Regions from separate parts of the Homo sapiens genome. Here all the other regions are linked to region 6. Evidence: promoter capture Hi-C in human tissues and cell types (Jung and others, 2019). All regions are on one chromosome and are shown on one strand. Each heading gives the region's core, a stretch centred on a gene start or on the middle of the fragment in contact. The rest is flanking DNA. Distances are from core to core; before and after follow the strand shown.

The links. The method cuts DNA at HindIII sites, captures the fragments that hold promoters and counts their contacts. A contact is called where the count stands out against the background at its distance.
Region 1: a contact is called between the fragment with the promoter of RHPN1 here and the fragment with the promoter of EPPK1 in region 6, in 2 of the 25 tissues and cell types used here (mesendoderm cells and spleen).
Region 2: the fragment with the promoter of MAFA here is called in contact with the fragment with the promoter of EPPK1 in region 6 in 2 of the 25 tissues and cell types used here (dorsolateral prefrontal cortex and lymphoblastoid cells).
Region 3: a contact is called between a fragment that was not itself captured here and the fragment with the promoter of EPPK1 in region 6, in 2 of the 25 tissues and cell types used here (lymphoblastoid cells and spleen).
Region 4: a fragment that was not itself captured here is called in contact with the fragment with the promoter of EPPK1 in region 6 in 2 of the 25 tissues and cell types used here (adrenal gland and lymphoblastoid cells).
Region 5: a contact is called between a fragment that was not itself captured here and the fragment with the promoter of EPPK1 in region 6, in 7 of the 25 tissues and cell types used here (H1 embryonic stem cells, heart left ventricle, lymphoblastoid cells and 4 more).
Region 7: a contact is called between a fragment that was not itself captured here and the fragment with the promoter of EPPK1 in region 6, in 2 of the 25 tissues and cell types used here (lymphoblastoid cells and spleen).

What each region holds. Positions count from the first base shown.
Region 1 is chr8:143,367,132-143,370,567 of GRCh38, forward strand. It overlaps RHPN1 (rhophilin Rho GTPase binding protein 1), which reads left to right and starts at 1,745. Exons shown (of 15, transcript NM_052924.3): 1 at 1,745-1,916. The coding sequence starts at 1,857. RHPN1-AS1 (RHPN1 antisense RNA 1) reads right to left here and starts at 1,504. Exons shown (of 1, transcript NR_026785.1): 1 at 1-1,504. RefSeq lists enhancers at 703-1,258, 1,999-2,906, 2,907-3,436 and silencers at 1,422-1,491, 1,502-1,961, 2,162-2,211. The HindIII fragment of the contact is 34,419 bases long and covers 1-3,436 here.
Region 2 is chr8:143,429,420-143,432,464 of GRCh38, forward strand. MAFA (MAF bZIP transcription factor A) reads right to left here and starts at 1,313. Exons shown (of 1, transcript NM_201589.4): 1 at 1-1,313. The coding sequence starts at 987. RefSeq lists a silencer at 1,230-1,669. The HindIII fragment of the contact is 28,870 bases long and covers 1-3,045 here.
Region 3 is chr8:143,531,434-143,534,699 of GRCh38, forward strand. All of the region lies in intron 3 of ZC3H3 (zinc finger CCCH-type containing 3), which reads right to left. Among named protein-coding and RNA genes, the nearest start is that of ZC3H3, 8.4 kb to the right of the region's middle. The HindIII fragment of the contact is 6,167 bases long and covers 1-3,266 here.
Region 4 is chr8:143,588,516-143,591,943 of GRCh38, forward strand. EEF1D (eukaryotic translation elongation factor 1 delta) reads right to left here. Exons shown (of 10, transcript NM_001130053.5): 3 at 476-1,566. The coding sequence starts at 1,566. Among named protein-coding and RNA genes, the nearest start is that of EEF1D, 7.2 kb to the right of the region's middle. RefSeq lists enhancers at 572-1,073, 1,074-1,573. The HindIII fragment of the contact is 8,109 bases long and covers 1-3,428 here.
Region 5 is chr8:143,508,011-143,511,362 of GRCh38, forward strand. The region is part of intron 3 of ZC3H3 (zinc finger CCCH-type containing 3); the gene reads right to left. Among named protein-coding and RNA genes, the nearest start is that of SNORD149, 3.4 kb to the left of the region's middle. The HindIII fragment of the contact is 8,123 bases long and covers 1-3,352 here.
Region 6 is chr8:143,876,916-143,880,105 of GRCh38, forward strand. It overlaps EPPK1 (epiplakin 1), which reads right to left and starts at 1,552. Exons shown (of 2, transcript NM_031308.4): 1 at 1,523-1,552. RefSeq lists a silencer at 1,606-1,695 and an enhancer at 2,262-2,904. The HindIII fragment of the contact is 27,880 bases long and covers 1-3,190 here.
Region 7 is chr8:143,396,946-143,400,116 of GRCh38, forward strand. No RefSeq gene overlaps it. Among named protein-coding and RNA genes, the nearest start is that of MAFA-AS1, 9.7 kb to the right of the region's middle. The HindIII fragment of the contact is 5,490 bases long and covers 1-3,171 here.

The DNA.
Region 1 (3,436 bases), core at 495-2,994, 510 kb before region 6:
GTGGACGACAAGCTGAAGGGCTCCCAGGGAGCAGACACTTCAAGGGCCCCAAAAGGCCAGGAGAAAGAAAAAAAAAAGCCGGGTATGGTGGCTCATCCCTGTAATCCAGCACTTTTGGGAGGTTGAGGCAGATGAATTGCTTGAGCCCAGAAGTTTGAGACCAGCCTGGGCCTGGGCAATGTGGCGAAACCCTGTCTCTACAAAATATACAAAAATTAGCCGGGTGTGGTGGTGCAAGCCTGTAGTCCCAGCTATTCAGGAGGCTGAGGTGGGAGGATCACATGAGCCCAGGAGGTGGAGGCTGCAGTGAGCTGTGATCGTACCACTGCACTCCGGCCTGGGGAACAGAGTGAGGCCCTGTCTCAAAAGGCCAGGAGTGGAAGACAGGCCCTAGCCAGGAGGTTTCGCGTGGCTGGCAGGGGCCTTATGAGAAGGCTGTTGCTGGGAGGGGCCTGCTGCAGATGGCTGCGGCAGACCACGGAGCTTAGCCTTCAGGATTTAGATCTGGGGATGACAGGCTCCTGTGTGCTTGTTGCGGAGCCGGGAGCACAGGCACCAGAATGATCCCAGGGCTCAGCTCCAAGGCTCCGCTGGGCCTGTGGTGGGGCAGTGAACGTGGACAAGACCTGGGCTTCAGAGGAACTTGATGACCAGGAGCCGTGGTTACCGCCTGTGCCCTGGCCTTCCTGCTCTTCAAAGGGTGTGTTCTGAGCTGAGGCGAGACCCACACGAAATCCGAGCGGGCTCCGGAGTCACCAGACACCTAGGGAAGTATGGAAGGCCCGGAAGGACACACACAGCCGGGTGAGCCCCGCAGGGAGCTGTGCAGTCTCAGGTCGTCCAGTCCTGGGGCTGCAGGCCAGTTCTCCAAGCAGGTGGTCCTGGAGGCAAGCTGGTTTTGAAAGTAGGTTCTGAAAATAGGTCAGTCCAGGAAACAAGCTCTGGAAGTAAAGAGATTCGGAAAGCAGGTTCGTTCTGGAAACAAGTTCTACAAACAGGTAGTTCTGAAAGCACGTGGGTTCCAGAGGCAGGTGCTAGAAGGATGTGGGTTCTGTACGGAGGTTCTGGAGGGAGGCGGGTTCTGGACGGAGGTTCTGGAAGGAGGCGGGTTCTGGAGGCCGGTTTTGGAAGCAGGACGACACCGACAGAGGCGCCTCGGACTGGGGCCAGGCCTGGAGCCTCCGCTCCGCGGGCAGAGAGAAGAAAGCAGGCATTGTCGGAGGACTCACACAAGCACTTGTCCCTAACAAAACCGTTTTTAAAAACCCCATTGTGAACATTTTTGGAACAAGCCTCTTAGAGGGTCCCGTTGCCGGGGTGACAGGACGAAACGGCGCGAGCGGGCAGACTCCTGGAGTCCCCGCAAAGGGAGCCGAGGAGCTAGGCGCGCCGAGTCCAGGTCCGCCCTGACTCTCAGCTTGGGACGTTCCGTATAGTTTTTTTCTCCGTTTCCCGAACTTCTCCCGCACGCTCAGCGGCCGCCGCGGCGCATGCGCAGTACAACCTGCCAGCCAGCCGCGGGCGTTCCGGCCGCGGTTGCCAGGGGTTACCGTCCCGCGGGCGGGCGGAGCTGGCCGTCCAGAGCCCGCCTTCCTGGAACTCTGGTTGGCTGATATAGCTGTCCGTCGAAGCGGCATTGCCGCCTATTGGGCAATGGCCAGCTTCGCACGCCAGACCCGTGCCCCGCCCAGCCGCGCCGCGGGCCGCCCCCACTCAGGAGGGACAGTCGGGGACCGGCGCGGGCACTCAGGAGCCCGCGGCCCAGGTGGTGCGGGCGGCCCTAGCCCGGCTGCGGAGCGCTGCGCGAGCGGCGGGCTGGCTGACCCCGAGGGACCCCCAGCGCAGCGGGTGCGGCGATGATCCTGGAGGAGAGGCCGGACGGCGCGGGCGCCGGCGAGGAGAGCCCGCGGCTGCAGGTGCGCAGAACTGGCGCGGCGGCGGGAGGAGGGGCCCGGAATCCCGGCCTTTTCCTGCCCCCCCTCGAGGCGCGTTCCGGGCGCCCCCCTCCTACGTCTCATTCGGCCCGGACGCAGGCAGGGAAACTGAGGCCAGAGCCTGCGTCCCTCCTCCTCTGAGCTCGGTGGAGGTGCTTCCAGGCCACTCATGTGAGCCGGGAAATGCGGACAGCCAAAGTCTGGATCATCCTCACCGCTGAAGCGGGTTGGGGGGACGCCCTCCTCGTGTCCCCCTTCTGGGCGGATGTGGGGCTGGGCTCTGTGAGCGCCCTCCCCACACCCGCCATCGTGTTCCTTTCCGGCACCTGTACAGCCTCCTTCCCTAGTTCGGTCCTCCCTCTGCATCCGCTCAGGAACTGCATGCCCATTGGGTGCACTGGTAGCAGCGGGCAGCGAAGCCTCCTGGGTATGGGAAACCGAGAGAGGTCTTCCCGGCTGGCCTCTTCTCACTTCCCAAACCTCCTTCCCTTCTGAAGTCCCTAACCCGGGGTGCTGACTGGGCAAGTGGGAGGGGTGGGCAGGGCTGTGGAGACCTGCTGAGTCTGTGCCTGGGAAGGAGGGGACGTCTGTGGGCCTTGCTCTGCAGCCCAGAGCCTGCTTGTTCCCTGCGGACCAGCTCGAGGCTGCCCCAGTCCTCCTGCCAGGCCCTGGGCGCCCACGCCCGCCACGGGCTTTCAGCCGCGGGCTGCTCCTGCTCCTCGCCCCGGGTGAGCCTTTGATAGCGCGCGGCCCTCCTCCCCTCTGGGACGTCAGACTGTGTTGTCCCTGGGCTGGTTCTACTCGGCTTTGGTGTTTGGGGTTAGGTCTCCTAGAGGAGGAGGCGGTGCTATCAGCCAGGGTTTGGCTTCAGGTCACTGGGCTGGTGATGCTGACCGTAGCCCTCAAGGACGCCCTTCTTGCCCACCCCGAGGCGTGCCAGAGGCTGCAGCACCTCCTGGGCACTGGAGGGAAAGAGGCAGCCTGTGCCTGCCCCCTATGAACTTGCTCTGTCAGGGCGGCCATGCCTGCAGGTGGCCTGGGACGGCACATGTTGTTTTGGGTGGAATGTTTGGGAGGCTGTACAAACAAGATGTCCCAGAGGGCTCCGGAGGTGACGCTTTTCAGGCTGGGGGCTGTGCCTGGGCTCCCTGTCCTGGCCCTCCCTGGGCTGCCACCTTGGAAAGTTGGGGAGAAGCTGTTTCCAGGCTGCCGTGTCTCTCACAGCGTCCAGAAATGACCCCACAGTCAGGGTACTGGGGAGGGGCCCGTGGGAGGTGGCAGTGGGGCGGAGGCAGGCCCTGTGTCACACGCGCACCACTCAGGCTGTCCTGCCATCTGGAAAGTCTTCCCCGATGCCTGCTGCCGGGCTAGAGTGAGGCCTGTTCCACCCCCATCAGGCTGGCCCCCAAACTGGCCCTAAAGCTCAGAGTTCAGTGGGTCAGGGGTCGGTCGTTCATCCACTTAGAGGCCACACCTGGGCCTGAGGCCCTGTGGACAGGTCT
Region 2 (3,045 bases), core at 63-2,562, 450 kb before region 6:
GGCCCCGCCCGCGCTCCCGGGGCCGCCCCGGCCCGCCAGCTTCTCGTATTTCTCCTTGTACAGGTCCCGCTCTTTGGCCAGGCGCCCCACCTCCAGCTTCAGCTGCTCCACCTGGCTCTGGAGTTGGCACTTCTCGCTCTCCAGAATGTGCCGCTGCTGCACCCGCTTGAAGCGGCAGGACTGCGCGTAGCCGCGGTTCTTGAGCGTGCGCCGCTTCTGCTTGAGCCGGATGACCTCCTCCTTGCTGAAGCCGCGGAGCTGCCGGTTCAGCTCGCGCACCGACATGGACACCAGCTGGTCGTCGGAGAAGCGCTCCTCCAGGCGCACGTGGTGGCCCGCGCCACCGCCGTGTCCCGCGCCGCCATGGTGGTGGTGGTGGTGGTGGTGGTGGTGGGCGGCGTGGTGATGGTGGGCGGCGTGGTGCGCGCCGTGGTGGTGGCCGGCGCCCATGTCGTCCGCTCCGCCGCCGCCCGCGAAGCCCGGGCCGCGGAAAGCCTCGTAGGCTGCGGCGGCCGCCGGGTGGTGCGCGCCGTGGTGCGCGCCGTGGTGGCCGCTGCCGATGAGCGCCTCCACCGCGTCCTCGGGCGTCAGGTTGAGCGCCTCGGGGTTGAGGTGATGCTGGTAGCCGCTCATCCAGTACAGATCCTCCAGCGCCGGCTTCCCCGAGGTGCCCCCGACGGCGCCGGGGCCCCCGCTCGGCGGCCCGGGGGCGCCCCCGGCCTGAGACGAGCCGCCGCCGCCCCCCGCGCCGCCGCCGCCGCCGGTGCCCGGGCTGGGCGCGCAGAAGCTGGGCGAGGAGGGCACGGAGGAGCAGGGCGTGCTGAGCGGCGTCGAGGACAGCGAGCCTGGCGGCAGGCGGTGGCAGAAGCGCTCGGCCTCGGGAGGCTCCTTCTTCACCTCGAACTTCATCAGGTCGAAGTCGTTGACGTACTCGATGGCCAGCGGGCTGCTGGGCAGCTCGGCGCCCATCGCCAGCTCCGCGGCCATCGCCCGGGGCCCGCGCCCGGCCGCGCCCCGACGGGCGGCGTGGGAGTGGGGGGGGAGCTGCAGGCCTCTCCCCCCCCTGCTCCCCGCGGGCGGCGGTCCCGGCGGGGGCGGGGGGGCGCCGGCGCGGGGCGGCGGCGCCGAGGGGCGCAGGGAAAAGTTTCACGTGGTCAACTCCGGGGCGGCGCGCTAGGGGCACCGCTGGCCAGGTGTCTCGGGCGACCCCGGGCCCGCGTCGCCGCCTCCTCCCCGCGGCCGCCGCCTCGGGCTGCTCCGGGACCGCTCCCGCGCCCCACCCGCGCCGCCGGCCGGCCCCGCCTCCCACGGCTAAACGCGAAGCCGCGCGCGCCCCTTTATAGAGCCGGGTGCCTGGGCCCGCCTCCCCGGGAGGGGCGCGCGCCCCCGGGCCAATCGGAGCCCCAGCCCCGCCGCCCTCATTTGCTTATCCCCATGGCAACTCAGAGCCCAGCTGTCAATCTCCTGCGGGAAACAGCTGTGGGAAGAGGTAGGGACGGGCCGCCGGCTAGAGGAGAGGGCAGGGCCCTCTGGTGGCCATCACGGGGCACTGCACGGGCAGAGGGCGCGCCGCCTCAGGGGACAACTGCCGTCTCCAGGGGCCTCAGCTCCCACACCCGGCGGCCGGAGAGTCCGGGGAAGCAGACGGGGACCGCGCCCGGGGACCCCCTCGGGGCCTCGTCCGCCTCGGGCCACGCGGCGGGACGCCCCCTCGGCCCCCTGGGTTTGCGGCCGGGCCTGGGGGCCGGGGGCAGCTCCGCTAGCGGCGGCGGCGGCGGCAGCGGGACCTCCGGGCCTCTGGACACGGGTGACACCGCGCGGCCCGGCAGAGCGCGGCGCGCTGAGCCGGTTATTTTTAGCCCGCGGCTCAGACGCGTTCAGGAATTTGGTCAACAAAGTTGCCGGCACCTCCGGGCACCGGGAAGCACGGGGCGGGCGGAGGGGGACACACGCGTGCGGGGCGGCGCGAGGGGCCGGGGACGGAGGGCCGGCTTGTGGGGGGCCGCGGAGAGCGCAGGACTGTGGGGGTCGCGGGACAACGCGGGTGGGTGCGAGCGGCGGGGGCGGGGCCCACGGGCTGGCAGCCCCTCAGGGCGTTAGGAATCCCCGCCCAAGCGGCCACCACTGCCCACTTTCGCCCCCCGCAGGGCTGGAGGCGCCTTGCTGGGCCTGGAGTGGGACGGGGGGTAACTGAGACGGGAAGGCGGGGATTTCCACCTGGCGGCCGTGCACCTGCTGGGAGGAGACGGCTCCGGTTCACGGGGCAAAGGAGGTGACGATGGGCGGTGGGCCTGTGACCCCAGGTCCCCGACACCAGCGAGCCGGGTGATGGGAGGGTTGCGCCAGGAGTTACAAGGCCGGTGACCCGAAGTGGGCCTATTGTTTCTTCTCGAAATTCTCTCCATTGCTGTTCTATGACTTCAGCAATTTAAAAAAAAAAAAAAAAAGTCTAAAATGTAACCACCTGTGTAGAGAAAAAAAGCCTGGAAGGAGTTGCGCAGAGGCCACAGGGAGGCCTGGTCACGGCGCCGCAGATTTAGTACCAGGCTCTCACCTCCTTCCCTCTACAAAGATCTATTGTTTTGTAACAAGAAGACTGTCATGAAGTGAGGACTGAACATCTGCTTCCTAAGGTGTCTCGGGGTGTCCCTGGCCCTTCCCTGGGCCCTCCCACTCCTCTGGGCAGAGCTGGGACTGCTGATTTGGGAAGACCAGGCCTTCCTCCCCGCAAGGGAGGGCCAAGGACAGCATGAGGACCCACCTGCAGGGACCCCTCTCCCCCGATCCTGTCCCAGAGGGGGCTCTGAGCTCCCCACCCTTCTACAGATGAAGAAATGAAGTGGGCATGCAGCAGAGCCAAGTCCCCACACTGGGTACCTGGACTTGAGACCACACGAGTGGTCAGCCAGCCAGGGGTGTGGGGTTTCCTTTATGGCACCCCGTGTTGAGAGGGAGGCCCGGGAAGGGAGGATGCCGCCGCGCAGTGGAGCTGGTGGTAGTCCAGGTTGTCTGCACCTGCAGCCCCAGGAGAGGCCTTGGGGCTAC
Region 3 (3,266 bases), core at 572-3,071, 350 kb before region 6:
AGAGGCAGGGAGGGGAGGAGAGGCACCGAAGAGTCAGGCTGAAACCTTCCAAACAGTCTCAGTCCCCAGGCGTGAGCGGCCACAGTGCTGCTGAACAATGCACTTTTGAATTCAATTAAAGCGATTATCTGTTGTGCCAAATAAATTGTGTACAGCATATATCCTGTGGCACTTTACACCTCCAGGCTCATTATTCCCTAACTGTTTCCTCCTGTTTATGCCTCTCAAATTAAATTGCTGATAATATGCGCCAAAATAAAAAATGAACGCACCTTGTCCCAAGAAAATTGATTCTCCCTTTTCCTGAACTGGCGATGGCCAGGTTTTATATACTCTGTTCTTGGTGATCATTAGTAATTCAATTTTCTTTTTATTAGCCCCCTTATCTGCTGAGCAATATAGTGGCAGGGCTGACCTCTTTCGCACGGGTAAATGTTTAAAATCTTTTCCCTGATTAATTTTGCCAGTTAAGAAAAAGAGGAGAAATGGCCCGGCTCTTAGCCATCACAATGAATAAAGCTTAATGTTGATTGTGACGGAATTTCTAATGCCAGGGAAATTGATTGAACGCGGCAATTACGCTGCAATAGTAACTCAGGGGAGATGGGATCGCTTTCTCCTGGCCGTAGCCTTTTGGTTATTTAAAATAATCCAATTTGCAAGGATAATTATGTATTAGCGTTTTATCTGCCACTTGAAATGAACAGGGGAGTTTCGATACTGGCCCAGCATTAGCAGGTTATTGCTGCAAATTACTTGGTATCTGCTTTCTTTCACATAAAAAGGAAATTACGCGATTACCAAAAAAGGGTGGACGGAGGCGATAGGAGGGGCAAGCATGCCCTCTGCTGGCCACTGGGCCGCACGGCAAGGCTGAAGTGCGGCGGGGGAGGGAGGCGGCAGCAGGGCTGCCTGGCAGCTTTCAGAAGCCCCTGTCCCTGGTGCATAAGTCCACAGGGCAGTCGTCCCCAGCTGGACACTGGGACACTGCCGTCTCCTTGAAGAGGAGAGGTGGAGCTGGAACTAAGCTTTTGCTGGGCAGAAAATGGGGAAAGAAAACTCCCAACAGCCAAATGAAGGAGCAGTCCCACCTGGCTGCCCCATCCACAGCCCACACGACCCCAGCATCCAGGAACGAACACCCCAGCCGATGGAGGCCTTGGCCACCCGGGAGGGCTGAAGGAGGGCCTGGGAAGGGCTCACTGGCTCACCAGAGCACTGCAGCGTTCAACGAAACAAAGCTGGGCCCTGCCCAGAAGCCCACTGGCCAAGGCAGAGGACAGGCAGGCCTCAGTTCCTAGGCAGGCAGGCAGGCATGGAGACGGTGGGCCTTGCAGGAGGGCACCTGGGGGAGCCACTCAACAGCTTCCTGGGCCCCAGCCTCCCATCTCCTCAGCAGACGCCCTGGCCACGCCCACCTCCCCTGCGGCCAGCTTGGAGTCTCACGGTGGCTGTCTCTGGGGTCAGCCGCCTGAGTGACCAGGCCAGGACGCAGGCTCGGCCTCTCACCTCCGCGCACATCTCCACGGGCTCCCTGCCTGCTTGAGAGCCTGCGGACTCCGCTCCTTGGCCTGGCGTCAGTGGCCTCACGCACAGGTCCTCCCGACTCTGCCCACTCGGGCCTGCCAGACACCCCGGGGCCCTGGACACGCCCCTCCCAGGGTCCTCCCCTGTCCCTCCCTGGCTTCCCAACGTAACCAGAACCAACCCCCCGTTCCCTCCTGTGGCCTACAAGACCCTTTCCCAGGACCTGGTCCCTCTGCCCCGTTGGCTGCATCCCCTCCAAGCCACACTCCCAGATGGTGAACTGGCCCCACAGCCTCCTTGTGCTCCAGAACACAGTAAGCTCGTTCCCACCTCCACCTCGGCCTCAGAGCTGAGCCCTATTCGCTCCTCTCTGCTCAGGTCACCTCCTCAGAGAAGCCCTCCCACTCGCCAACCACCTCTCTGCAGCTGGCCCTGTGCTCTCCCCCTGCCTGTTCCTCAGAAGGCATTTTCCACCCAGGAGCACCTTCCTGGCTGATGTACAAGCACTCCAGTGGCTGCCTGTCTCCACCACTGGAAGGCGGCTCCAGCCTCATCATCTCTTCACCTTCACTGCAGTATCCCCAGGAGCCGGCAGGCTGCCAGGCACAGTGACTCAACCACGCTTGCCAGTTGGGCCAGTGGTGGGCAAGTGAGTGGGACGCCTTCCCCACCCCTTCCTCAGACAGGACCCTCTCCTCTCACTCCATGCAGCCGCCACGCTGGTCTTTTTTTTTTTTTTTTTTTGAGACAAAATGTCACTCTGTCGCCCAGGCTGGAGTACAATGGCACGATCTAACCTCTGCCTCCTGGGTTCAAGTGATTCTCCTGCCTCAGCCTCCCGAGTAGATGGGATTACAGACGCTCGCCACCACACCCAGCTAATTTTTGTATTTTTAGTAGAGACGGGGTTTTGCCATGTTGCCAAGGCTGGTCTTGAACTCCTGACCTCAGGTGATCCACCCGCCTCGGCCTCCCAGTGTGCTGGGATTACAGGCATGAGCCACCACGCCCAGCCTCACGTTGGTCTTTAACTATGAGTTTGGCTGGGCACAGTGGCTCACACCTGTAATCCCAGCACTTTAAGAGACTAAGGCAGGAGGATCACTTGAGCCCAGAAGTTCAAGACCAGCCTAGGCAACAAAGCAAGACCCTGTCCCTACAAAAAAATTAAAAATTAGCCAGGCACAGTGACATGCACCTGTAGTCCCAGCTATTCAGCAGGGTCACTTGAGCCCAGGAGGTTGAGGCTGCAATGAGCTGTGACTGCACCACTGTACTCTGGCCTGGGAGGGAAGCAGGGCCCTGTTTCTAAAAACATTAAAAAAAAAAAAAAAAACGACGAGATCAATTACGCCCTTCCCTCTAGTGAGGCAGGACCGCAGCAGCCCCTCAGCTGTGCACTCCGAAATGGTCAGCCGGTGAAGCTGGTGGCCTCCCAAACCCACTCTTCCTGGCAGGAGTCCGGGGGGCGCCGAGCAAGGCCCCACCAGCAGGAAGCAACCTCCCCCATCCCCTGCCTATGCCCCACTCTACTAGAGGCCTGAAGAGGGAGCAGGCCAGGTGAGCAGGGCTGAACCTGCACCCAGTGGGGAGCCTCTCACCCCAACCACCACGCCATCTGCAAGCCTTGGCCTCCTAGGGCTCAGCAGACCCTGCTGGCCTCCCAGAGCTGGACACCTCCCCAACCCCTCCTCCCCAAGTGACCAGGGGATACCGCCAACTGTCCAAGCCACCCCTAC
Region 4 (3,428 bases), core at 412-2,911, 290 kb before region 6:
GTTTCAGGTGACAAGGAAAGCTGGGGGTGCACAGGATGGACAGGCAGGGACACACTGGCTCCCACATCTCATCGCAGGGGAGCGCTAGGGCCAGAAACCAGCTTCAATGCTTCCCGCCCCTATAAGTAGCCTTATCTTCTCAGCCCTGGCATGTGACAGCCACAGGGGACTTGGGGAGCTTCCCAGCCAAAGAGGGACCCTGGGCAAGGCAGAGATTCTGCCCTGTGCTGAGCCCTTCCCTGCCCTCATCCAGGCAGCCTGGAACTTTGTAACCTCAAGCAGTGTCCCTGGAACCCACAAGCGCAGCACCACCTTTACTCAGCCTGCTCCTGCATTCAACTCTGCTGGGCCCACGGGTCTCGGGGAGCCCCCACCCCAGGTGGGCAGGGGAGGAAGCTGGAGGAGCCCCAGCCTGGGATGGCTGTCCCTGTGCCCACAGCCCAGGCTGGGTGCCCACCCAGCACGTTTCTCCTACTTGGGTCTCAGGCTGGACACGGACAGGCCAGACCGAGGACCGGGTCGGTGAGACAGGGAGGCAGCTTCGAGGCACCAGGCCACCCGCAGGGCCTCGGCAGCGTGGTGGCGGCACTCGGCGCTGTCGTAGGCAGGCTTGCTGAGCCAGGGGGCCTCTGCATCCTTCTGCAGGAAGTAACAGTAGGGCAAGGCAGAGGGGGCCTCCCCATCGGCCCGTCGCAGCCCGGCCCGCTTGTTCCCTAAGATGTTGCGGCCCCGCCGGTCTCTGCGGCCCCGCCGGGCACCCTCGGCCAGGCCGGCTCGCTCTTGCAGGCGCACCTTCCCTGGGGGATGGCCGTCAAACAGGGCCTCGTAGAAGCCCCTCTCGGCTGCATCATACCGGGGCTTCTCCAGCCACACCTCCCGAACCAGTGCCTGCAGGCTGCCCAGCGGGGGCTGGCCATTGACCGGTGGGCTGGGCTGGTGGGCCAGGTCGGGGACGGCCACCTGCTGGCCTGTGTTGGGAGTCCCCTGCCTGCGGCTGCCGTCGGGGGCCAGCAACAGGGCCTGAGACCACTCCACGAAGGCCCGCTCAGCCTGGTCGAAGGAGGACTTGTTGACCCAGATCCCCCAGGTCACGTGGTGGCAGGCCACCTGGTTTCCATGGGTGCAGAGACCCCAAGGGGCCAAGGCAGGAGGCCAGGCTGCCTGGGCAGCCACATCTGCCAGCTTCTGGCGGTAGGAGCTCTCTGCCTGGTCGAAAAGTGACTTGTCCAGCCACACGCGTTCGGCCGAGAGGCCCAGGAGGGCCAGGTCCGCGGGGCCGAGCCCGCTCTTGGGGGAGCGCTTCCTCTTTTTCTGCAGGGGCTTCCTGCTGTCCTGGCTCTTCCTGGGATCACGCCTGCTGCCGCCGTCAGGGGCTTCCGCCTCATCAGCGTCCTCAGGGTCGTCCTGGCCGGGCCCATTCATGGCTGGCCCCTCGGCTGGCAGCTGCTGGGCGGAGGCGGCCGCCTGTGTGGCCTCGTGTTCGTAGAAGCGCCGCTCGGCCTCCTCATACTTGTGCTTGTCTTCCCACACGGTCTCCAGGGTGCAGGAGGCCTTCCCGCTCCTCATCTTCCGGACACAGCGATAAAAAGCAAGCAGAGGGCAGAGTTGCAACACAGCGGGTGGCCGCAGCCCCGTGCCCACCCTCCCCGTGCCCGCCCTCCCCGTGGCTGCCCTCCCTGGGCAGGGGCTGAGGATGCTCCCCAGTGGGGCTTCCATGAGATGACATTCGAGGACTTCGAAGTCAAGCCCATGTGGGGACGTTTTGTTGTGAAGAGAAAACAGGCCGGGCGCAGTGGCTCATGCCTGTAATCTCAGTACTCTGGGAGGCCAAGTGCCTCCCAATACATGAACAATATATAATTTTGTTAGTGAATGTATGGCCCATGAAGTATCTGAGACATACTTACACTAAAAATTTTTCGTCATTTATCTGAAATAAGCTTTAACTGGCTAACTAGCTTTCCCTGCATTTTTCCACAGGCCAGGCCTGGCCACCCCACCATGGTGGCTGGTGTTCCCATTCTACAGAACGGTCTCTGTGGCTGTCCTGGCCACACCACTGCCACACCCAGAGCACCCTCAAAGTTCTTACAAAAGAAGGAGCCTCGGCCAGGCACGGTGGCTCACACCTGTAATCCCAACACTTTGGGAGGCCGAGGCGGGCGGATCACAGGGTCTGGAGACTGAGACCATCCTGGCTAACACGTTGAAACCCTGTCTCTACTAAAAATAAAAATAAAAATTAGCCGGGCGTGGTGGCAGGCGCCTGTAGTCCCAGCTCCTAGGGAGGCTGAGGCAGGAGAATGGCGTGAAGCCGGGAGGCGGAGCTTGCAGTGAACCGAGATGGCGCCACTGCACTCCAGCCTGGACAACAGAGCAGGGGAAAAGAAAAAAAAAGAGGGAGCTTCTTTGTGGGCCTGACTGTCCTCCCCAGGAGGGGGCCAGGTGGCCGGGCAGAGGGTGGAGTGCCCACTCATGAAGGAGACGCCAGGGAGGATGCTGGTGACCACTGTGTAGAAAGGAGGGGCCAAGCGCCTGGAGCACTGAGACGGCTCTAGGCTCTCTATCAGCTGCCCCCGCCTCCCAGCTGGAGTCCATACCTTTGGGTCCATCCAAGCTAAAGGGGAATCATGGGGCTCTCACAGTCCCAGGACATCAGGGCCCCCTCTAAGGTTTTGCTTCTGTGTAATGTTAAGAGGGACCATCTTGGTGGGAGGCAGGTTGTGAGGCTCCACTCCCCACTTGCTACTGTGGCCTGGGAGCCTCAGCCTCCTCCCTGGATGAGGTGTTCCCTCAAGCTCTGGGCGACCTCAGTCACCTGCTGCCCCAGTGCTCCAGCAGCCATGTGGGATCCTGCCGGGGGCACGCTCTGCTCCCAGGTGTCCAGTGTGGTGTTACAGAAAGGACAGGCCCAGAAGGCCAGGGGCAAATCTGCTCTTGGGATGCAGGTCAGCACCCCAGCCCGCGCTCAGCCTGCGATAGCTTCCTCCCCAGCCATGCCCGACTCCAGGCTCTGCTCCCCAAAAGCAGAAACGCCTGGGCCTAACCAACGCCTAGGAGCACCCTCAAGAGGGGGCTGTGCAGCTGCCCCTCACAGACACCGCTGCTAGTCTGCTGCCTCCGCAGGTGTGTCTAGTGGAGCCTGAGGGCAGACAGACCCAGTGGCCCCAGGGCACCGTGACTGGGACCACCTGCCTGGTCTGCACCCAGAGGGAGGCAGCCTTCGGTCAAGAGCAGACCCTTCACACCAGTGGCTATGGGTCTTCGCCCCTCTTCTAACATCCTTACCCAACAAAACCAAGGCTGGCTCCAACGCCCCCCGTGGGGTGCTGAGCTGTCTACGCTCCACCCAGGCAGGGAGGACTTTTGGGAAGGCACCCCTGGCACTGCACTCTGCAGCCTCTAAGTGGAACATGGAGTTCTTTGCG
Region 5 (3,352 bases), core at 696-3,195, 370 kb before region 6:
GACCCTCCATCGCCCCGTGGATAAAACCCTCAACCCATGTGGCACACACATCCCCAGGGCGCCTGGCAGCCGACGCTTCAGGAGCTAGCCAGTGCAGCCTCTGAGAGGCGGGCACCAGCCCCGCACACCCTCCAGCCATCTGGAGAAACAAGGGAATGCCCACACCACAGGAAAACCAGGAGAAGCCAGGGGTCTGGCAGCCGGGGATGCCTTGGAGTCCCCTAGACAGTATCCGCAACAGGGGGACTCGAGGTGGCTGACTGACTTCCAGCAGAGCAGTGAGGAAGGCAGATGGGCCACCTCCACCCAGGCCAGAGGGGCGGGGCTGGGAGGCTCCTGGCCTGTGCCCTGCACAGGGGAGGGGCGCTGGAGCACTCACCTCCTCAAGCGGCACCTCCTCACCGCTGTGCCCAGACAGACTTATGTACTTAGTCACTGTTTTCATAACATTTTGCAGGGTGATAGACACGACGGCTTTTTTCTTGCTGAATGTTTCATGCAATTAACAGGAATCTTTTGCCCGAGTTCCCTTCCACTTGATAGCTGGCAATTTACCCACAGCTTCGAGGGTTGCGTCTAATTGCCCAGCTTGCATCATGTACAGCTCTGACTGCCCAGATCATTAAAGCTAACTCAGCAGTGGGCACAGGCCCGCCTTCCCAACAGCTTCCCTGGCAGCCCAAGGCTCAGGGGCTGCTGCAAGAGGCCCCCGCCCCCCTCCACCCCCTTCAGGGTCGCCCACAGGAGGACCCCACCCAGCCCAGCCCAGGGGACCTCACTTCCTTCCAGTCAGTGCCCAGCTTCCCCTGTGCCCGGGACCCCTGACTGCCCAGGACACACCCTCTTGGCCCCCACAGCCAAACAGCCCTCGAGGCACCCTGCTCCTTGGACAGGACCAGTAACTGTTACCATTTCCCAAATTCTTTTCCAGAGCCCTAAACGCAACGGACCTTGAGCAGCCAGGGCCCCTCCTTGAGGCCGAGCTTCTAGCCCATCTCTCCACAGACTCGCTCACTCTCCTGCCCACACTGCCCTGTCCAGATGTCAGCAAAGAGCCCCTCCCTCAGGCGTTCCCCCAGCACCATCCAAGCTGCAGCCTCTACTCAGGCACCTGTCAGCCTGCACAGGAGCAAGTCAGGAACACTTGGCCCCAACATGACATCAAAGCCTTCCCCAGAGTCCCCCAGAGTCCACATCAGAGAGTCTGCCGATTGTATTTTCAAGGTCTTACAAACAAGGAGAAACCAGCAAAAAAATCAATAATAGCTTGTTTCAACTAAGCGCTGGAGAACGTAAGAAGTCCTTAAGTTATCAATAACCCCGAGGTGACCTCACCACCTTCCAGCCCTGCTGCAGGCTCCTTGCTTCTGCCTGAGGAGAGCATGGGCTGCCCGGCTGCTCCTGCCCCACCTGGGCCAAGCTGGGGGCCAGCCTTGGCACCTGGGCAGTCAGGGCACCCACTGGAGCACTGCCAGCCATGGGGCCGGGCCTCAGGGCTGCCACCAGCCCACCCCCAACCCCAGAGTGCCCAAATGGCCCACTTGCCAGCCTGCAGCCTGCTTCCCACCATGGCTTCCCACAAGCCTCCCAGGCCGCCCAATGCCTGCTGCTCTGGGACGCAGAGCCTGGGGCGATGCTGGCCCCTTGGAGCCACAGCATGACAAAGCTAGGGTACAGTCCTGCTCAGAGGCCAGGTGGGGCCAAGCAAGGCAGGAGGGACACTGGGCCACACTCGGGACACTGGGCCACCCTCGGGCCCCGGGGGTTCATGTTCCCCTCCCCATCAACCTCTTTCCCCAAATTCTAAGTACAGGAGCCCCCAGACCTGGCCCAGCTCCATTCCCGTCGCCAAATGCACAGCCTCCCTTCGGCTAAAATCACTTCTAACCTTGGGAACCAGAGCTCGCCCTCCCTCCCAGGTCCAGCACATGCCAAGTCCTCTAGGAATTCCCAGCCCCGACTGCACACAGGACTGGACTCTGCATTCTAGAACACTTCTGCCCAGGAGGGGCAGCTTGGGGCAGGCAGGGCCTGGCGGGCGGCGGCACCATGATCACACTCCTGCGCAGTGCTGGCAGTGGTCAGGTCAGGCTTCTTTGCCTTACTGCGTGTTACTTCTTAGTGCCCAAGTGTCACTCCTGAAAACCACACGGTAATAACGCAGCGCCAGCCTCTTGTCACAGCCCACTCAGGCTGGGCAGGTATATTCTGCACGTCACCTAGATAGACCCCTCTCCTACAGTCCCTACCAGACTGGGGGCACTTCAAGGGGCTCACAGTGACAAGGTGGCAGCTAGTGTGGGCCCAAGCTGGGCTCCAGCCTGCAACCCACCCCCACAGCAGGGTCGTGTCCCCCACGGCCTGGCCCTGCAGACCATGGGCAGTCCCTGTCATTCCCAGATGGGCAGCTCGGACAAGCTCATGACAACCCAGGATGAGCAGGGCACAGCCGGACAGATGGGTAGTAGCAGATGAATTCTGAGCTGGGCACCCAGCGACTGGCAGGAGCAAGGGCTCCTAAGACCATGCATGGCACACGGACCCAGAAAGTCAGGCTGCAGGAAGGAAGGGTCCCTCCCTGGCCCTGTTCCCCAGGGTGTGCAGCGATGGCGTGGGCAGGTGGCAAGGCTTGGGAGGCTGCAGGACGCTGCTCTGTAGCCAAGAAGGACCCAGGCAGAAACAGGCCTCTGCCCTCCTCCCTGAGGACACAGGCCCAGGCGCCCATCCCTCCTGGCTGGCTGGGGTTTGTGTAGATAATCGTGTTATTTAGATAGGATGTTGGTTTAATTCCCCTCATTACAGACTCCCAGGGCTGTAATTTTTTTTCTCCACGTGATGCATTCCCGTGGCACACTCCGCGCACATCAAACCCCTTGCGCCTTTATTGCCGGCGATGCCCCGGCCCGCGTTATCAGCCCCACACACGCAGCCCTCTCTGCCCGCCATCAAGAGGTCACTTCTAATGACTAATCGATCTCATTAGCTTTCCTAATTAAAAACTTTACTACCGCAATGGAAGACAAACTACAAAGAAACTGCTGGCATCATATGTGAATGAGATATGAGCCCATCCATCAGCAGGGTTTGAGCTCTTGCACACGGCACCATGCCCTCAGGCCGGGGACCAGGTGGGACAGCCCTCAGGCACCTCGAGAGCCCTGCTGTGTACCAAGCACCACATGCCCAATGACGCATCATCAGGAGGGCGGCCGCTGAGGCTGGGCCCGGCCATCAGGGGTCCAGGAGTCCTGCAGAGCCTGGCCCTGCCCACCCGGCTCACTCTCCTCGGACAATTCCAACACAGATGGCTGGTCTGATCAGATGGGGGTCGCAGCCTTGCTCTGTTTTATGT
Region 6 (3,190 bases), core at 302-2,801:
AGCACCTTGGGCGGGCCCCTGACCTGCGCACAGGCCGCCAGCCCAGACAGGCCGCGTGCTAAGCGGGCCTCGTAAGCTCAGGCAAGTGGCTCAAGTTCCCCAAACAAAGAGGAGATCCAGGGAGGAAGGCTGGAGACAGGGCGCTTGGGAGCAGGGAGTCGGGGGCAGGCTTGCCCTGCGTGTGTGAGTGTGCCTGCCAGTGCATGCCCCGCACCATGCGTGAGATGCGGCCTGTGGCTGGCTGCACCACTCCCTATCTCTTCCTGACCTTGGGCCTGGTATGAACCCCTCTGGGCCCTGCCCCTTCCCTGGGCCCTGCCCCTTCCCAGGCTTGGCAGGAGGAAGGCCCGGGAGTGGGTGTCTTGACTCCATGTGGGGCCTGGGAGGGCAGCTGGACAGAGGGTCCGGAGCGAGGGGGGGCAGGGGGTGCAGCTTCGAGTGTGGGGGCATCTGGAGGAGGTGGCTGCTGCCTAGGAGAGCACGGGGTCAGGGTTAGGGTGATGGGGTGGGGAGGAGGCCGAGCAGATTTCCCCGGAGCCTGAGGCACAAAGGGCCCCTCCTGTGGATTCCCCACTTCAGGTGGCCCCCAGGCCCCAAGTGGTGGAGGGCCGTTCCTGAGGAGGGTGGGTCTGCATCTCTTGGGTGAGGTCACTGTCTGTCACCAGACTGCCCGGCAGGCCCCCACCGCAGCCTGGGACAAAGGTTGGGGAGGCTGCAGCCGCCTGCCTGAGTCAGGTCAGGACAGACCCTGGCAGCTGCCTGGGCCCACACAGGAGGCAGCAGCCTTAGCTTCTGCCCGGCTGTGTGCCCTTGTGGGAAGACCCCACCCACCTGCAACCTGCACCATGATCAGAGATCAGTGGCCCCAATAACAAGCTTGGCACAGTGCAGCGGGGGCCCAGGGCAGGGAAGCAGAGCCCTGGGCCCAAGTGATGAACAGGGCCCTTCCTGCCTCTGCCTCCCACGGGTCTCCAGGCGACCGTGTGACCGCTTACCTGACCCGGAGTGGCCACCCCTGGGACCGCTCACCCAACAGCAGGCAGCTTCCCCGGATCCGTGACGCCTCCCTCCCGGCAATGTTGCCAGGAGTCACCCCTCTCAATTTGTCGGCCTAGCTGCCTCCTGGCCTGGGCGTTCCCCACCCTGCAGAGCGTGCCCCGGGCGGTCCTCGCTGCAGGGAAAACCGCTGGGCCTGCGAGACCCCCGCCCCTGGCCGCCTCTCCCGTGAGGGCTCGGGGCCGGCGCCTCCTCTTCACCGGCGCCCGGGACTCAGGGGCGCCACTTCGGACTCGGAGCTCAAATTGCCCAGGGCGGGAAACCTGCCCGGCCAGAGCCCAAGACCCCGCTGGCCGCCGCGCCCCTACCCTGGCCTCGGCGTGCGGCTCCAGCGGGGATCCGGTTTCCTTCGGCGGCCGCCGCCCCGCCCGGCCCCGAGCCCGCACCCGCACCCGCCGCACCTGCCCGCACCCGCCGCACCTGCCCGCACCCGCCGCACCCGCCGCACCCGCCGCACCCGCCGCACCTGCCCGCTCGCCGCTCGGTCCGCAGTGTCTCCGCGCGCCCGCTCCGCCCGCATTTCAAGCCCCACAGGCCCCGCCCCCGTCTAGGGCGGCGCCCAGGTCGGGGCCCCGACGCGGGGCGGGGCGGGGCGGGCAGGTGCCGGAAACCCCGCGCGGCCCGGGCCTGGCGCTTGCACCCCGGGCAAGGGGCGGCGGCTGGGCAGCCGGGACCCTCCCCTCGTCCCCAGCAGGGAGTCACCGCGAAGGAACGCAGGGCGGGCGCGGAGGCGTCCTGTGCCCTTCAGAACAGCTTTTTTTTTTTGGGAAAGGAGTTTGGAGTGAAACGCGGACCGGCCAGAGCGGCGGTTTCTATCCCCACAAGCCACTAATGCGGTGCGGGCTGGTGTCCCTGCCTCCAGCCCCGACCCCACCTTGTCTGCTCAGCTTCCTGGGGACGCTGCTTCACGTCGTGTGTCTGCTGGGTCCAGGGGTCTTCAAGGCTCTCCTTGGCAGGCCCCCCTGCCCCCATGACGTTGTAAGAGCTGGGATGTCCTGCCTGGAGCAGTGCCAGGCCTCACCCCCCGGTCTGGCTCCTCCACCTGGGCACAGAGAATGTTCCCTGTCACCCTGGGAGTACCTGGTCCCCTCTCTGAAGCCCATCCTGGCACCCACCTTCCAAGGCTGGGGCATGCCAGAGACACTGGGCATGGAGGCTCACAGCCTCGGGGGCTGGCCTGGGGGCAGCCTCAGCCTGGCACGGGAACCTTCCATGGATCTTCTGGAGGGCCCTCCCCTTGGCTGCCCCGATATCCCAGGTGGGCAGGGCCACGGAAGTACAGGGCCCAAAGCCCCTCCTCCTCTGTCCCCAAGGCCCCTCCTCCTCTGTCCCGTAGTCCTGGAGGTCCTGAGGGCTCAGGTGCTCCCCACCCCCACAAGTGCCCCCTTCTCCCAAGCTCCAGCCCCCACCTCTGCCTGAGTCATTCTTGACCAGAAAATCATCCAGAGCCAGCCAGCCACCTCCAATGCACACCATGAGGGTAATTGCAGGCGCCCACGCAGGTGCAGGAGGGACAGGTTAGGCCTTCAGGGGTTAGGGTGCTTGGGACCACTGCCCTGGCTCTGCTCTCACCCACCCACCAGGTCCACACTCACACCTGCTCACCCAGGCTGCCTGGACCCTGTCCACACCTGCCACACTGGCCGCACAGCATGGCTGCTGCCGACTGCGGGGCCCTGACCCCAGAGGAGCTCTGGTGGAACCCGCATTTCCCCAAGGCACTGCCAGGCCAACCGCATCCATCCCCAGCCCTGCTCACCGGATGCCTGGACACTGTCTGTGTGGTCTTGCTGGGAGGCATGGTGGTGCTGGCTATGGCCTGTGGCCTGGAGCACACCCCAGAGCCACTTCTTCCTGCGGTGAGCCATTGCAGGCAGCGCCCCTGCCAGGCCACAAAACCTGGGTGTATGCCAGCCCCTCGCTGCAAGAAGGGGGTGTTAGGCTGGCCAGACCAAGCCTTCTTGTGTGCCCAGGGACGGGCCACATGCCTGTCTGCTCCTCACCCCTCCGGTATAGGCAGGTGGCACAGAGCTGGCCCTGCTCCGCTGCACCCATTTCTGCCCGTCACCCCTCCAGTATAGGCAGGTGGCACGGAGCTGGCCCTGCTCCGCTGCACCCATTTCTGCCCGTCACC
Region 7 (3,171 bases), core at 373-2,872, 480 kb before region 6:
CCTGTCCCGGACGCCAACCCAGCGAGGGTGCGGAGTGCAGGGCGGGCGCAGACAGCGAAGGCCTGCAGTGGCTGCCTGCCAGGCTGGGAAGCTCCAGTGGCCTGAGGGTCCCAGATTCCACTGCCATCGAGGGAACTCCCTCCCCGCACCCCCAGCATTGACTCCTCTGTTCCAGGAGCTGGACCCTGACTGTATGTGGCGCCTGCCTCCAGCCCTGCTCTTCCCAGAGCCCTCCTGGGTCTGGCCTGGGCCAGGCCTGCCCTCCAGGGACTCCCACAGGGTGCTGGGCGGCAGGGCCCCGCCCATGCCCTTCTGCTCAAACCTTGGGTGCTCTACCCTCCCACTGTCCCCTCCTGGACTGTCACTGTTCCTCCTAGGGGGCAGTGATGGAAGGGGCCCACCTACCCATATGTCCCCTGGTTCCCTCAGTCACCCCGACCCTGGCAGGAGGGTTAGGCTGGCCTCGTGAGCCCCAGGACAGGCTGTCCTGAAACGGTCACCTCCCAAGCCCAGTGTCCCACTCAGAGCTGGGCCTCCATAGAGGACCCCACAGGACGGCTTGATTACTTAAAATTGTGATTACGGTAAAATGTGTTACGATTTCAGCCATCTCTGAGGGTGCACCTGAGTGGTGTGAAGCGCGCCCACATCCTCGTGCCTCCAGAATCTTCCATCTTCCCAAACTGACTCTGTTCCCGTGAAACACTCGCCTCCCCAGCCCCCGTCCCCACCCTGTGAATCGGAGCCTCAGAGCCTTAGGTCACTGGGGTCACAGCATGTGTCCTGTGCCCACCACCTTCGCTCAGCATGGGGTCTCCCCAAGGGGCTCTGGCGAGGGGCGGGCATCCTTCTGGCTGGGCAGGTGGAGGGGCCCCTCACCCAGGAAGGGTGGCGGAAGCCAGAGAGGCCCTGAGGGTGAGGGTTTGAGGGCGGATGTGTGGGGGTGGGGCCGCAGTAACTACAGGCCAGCAGCAAATGGACAGCTCACAGCGGCCGGCAGAGAGCATTTTTAATGGTCCCTAAAGCCCTCAGCCAGCCAGCGCTGAGCTCAGCATCCCCTCGGTGAGCCTGGGAGGGGCGTGGGGCAGCCCGGGACCACCTCAGATATCTCCCACTGCCGCCTCTTCCCTGCCAGGACCCCCAGAACCCACCCAAGAACTCAGGGGCAGGGGACAGAGCCCTGCGGGTCCCCAGACCCCGGTGTTGATCGTTCCATGCTGGGCCGGAACTGCCCTGCCCTTGGGGACTCTGCAGGGATATTCGGAAGCTCCGCCAGCACCCCCGCCCTATTCGTCACAGGGCCCATTAGGTGCTGACAGTTGCTTCCCCATCTGCCTGGCTGGGGCGGGGCCAAGGCCCCAGGGGCCCATCCATCTTGGACCCTGGGGTCTTCCTCTTCCTCCTTGGTCTGGGCTGGAGGCCTCTGAGGGTGGCCTCCCCCAACCCAGACTCCGGGGTGGGGGCAGGCGTCTTCCGAGAAGGACAGCAGGGAGGAAGTGTGGGAGGAGGCGGCTCCCTGGCCAATAGGGCAGCGCAAGGCAGTCCCAGCACCATCACAGTCCAACCCTGGGGGCACCAGAACCCGGGGACTCCTGCTTGGGCTGGGGGAGCCTGGAGCTGATTTGTTAGCTCTCCCACCCCAACCAAGCTCATTCAGCTGGGGCTTTGGGCCTCAGCTGCCTATCACCTGGGCGGGAGGGTTCGTGGGAGGCCAGCTAGGCTCCAGGCAGCCCAGACAGGGTCCAGCCACCGGCCTTGTGGGACTGGGTGCCAGGTGTGGGGGAGGGAGCCAGCAGCTCCCCGGGGTTCCCCTTGGTTCAGCACCCAGGCCCAGCTGTGGGTACTGGGAGCCCAGGGCTTCTAGGAGCCTCCTCTGGGCCTGTGGGGAGGGTCTGGCAGTTTCTTCACTCTTCCCAGAGGGTGTGGGCAGGCCTTGGGTGCAAGAGATAGCCTGGCCCGGCACTGCAGCTGCCCTGGGGTCAGGACTGCCTGGCAGGCTGTGGTTTATTTATATGACCAGCTTATTTATTTATAGGGTTCTTGATGGGAGGTGCGGGCCCTGGCCTGCACCCCAGAGATATGCAAGCCCCACCGCAGAGGGGCAAGGGCGTACCCCTGGGCCATAGCCAATGCCCACTACTCCTCCGGGAGGCAGTCCTCAATTGCACACTCCCCTCCCGAACCCACCTCCTCCCTCGGTGGGGAAGCAGAGGCCACAGAGGTGAGCGTCACTGGAGGCGTGCCAGGACACAGCGCAGGACACAATGATGACATCAGTCTGATGTCACCACCTCTATTGAGCCCTGGCTCCAGGCTGCCCCCCTGTGATCCTGCTGGCTGTGGCTCCGTGAGGGTTGGGGGTGTCAGGGGCACTGGAGCTGGGCAGGGCTGAGGCAGTATGGACCCAGCCAAGCTCTGGGGCCACCAGACTCCCCTCCTGCCTTTCACACAGGGTGTCCAGATAAAATTCAGTACACCCAGGTACTTGTGAATTTTAGACAAGCAATGAATTTTTTTTTAAGTATAAGTATATCCCAAACAGTGCATGGGATATACTTAGACTAAAATGGTTTTGTTGTTTTTTTAATCAGAAATCTAAATGTAACTCCGCACCCTGGATTTTTGTTTGCTAAACCTGGCTGCCCTCCTGGCACTGGGCAAACACCTGCCCAGGAGCCCCCAGAGGAGAGAAAGACCTCGCCTTGGCAGGGGTGTGTCCCGGGAGGCTGGGACAGGCTGGCCACCCACACATCACTGTCCTTGCCCTGTTTCCTCTGTACTTCAACTTCCCACTTGCCCTGTGCCCCCACCCCTGAGGCCCGGATTAATTTGGGAAGGACAATGTTTATATTAACCATTCATTTATCGACGTCTGCTTGCTGGGTCAATGGCCAAATTTATTGTCTCACAAGATGGGCCGCGTCGAGCCGCGTGCAGCCTTCACCCTCCCCTGCCAGCCGGGGCAGTCGGCCGCTGTCAATACGCAGACCGCTGACCTTGGGCCTGCAGTCTGCTGGGGGCTGGGATCTCCCGGAGAGGCTTCTGGAGCAGGAAAGGGGTGGGCAGTGGGGTTCACCCCTGCATCACCCCGTTGCTGGGCTCAAGGGCCCACACTCACCCCCACAGCCAGGGGGGCACTGACACAGGCTGAGGGTTGGGCCCAGGCAGGGG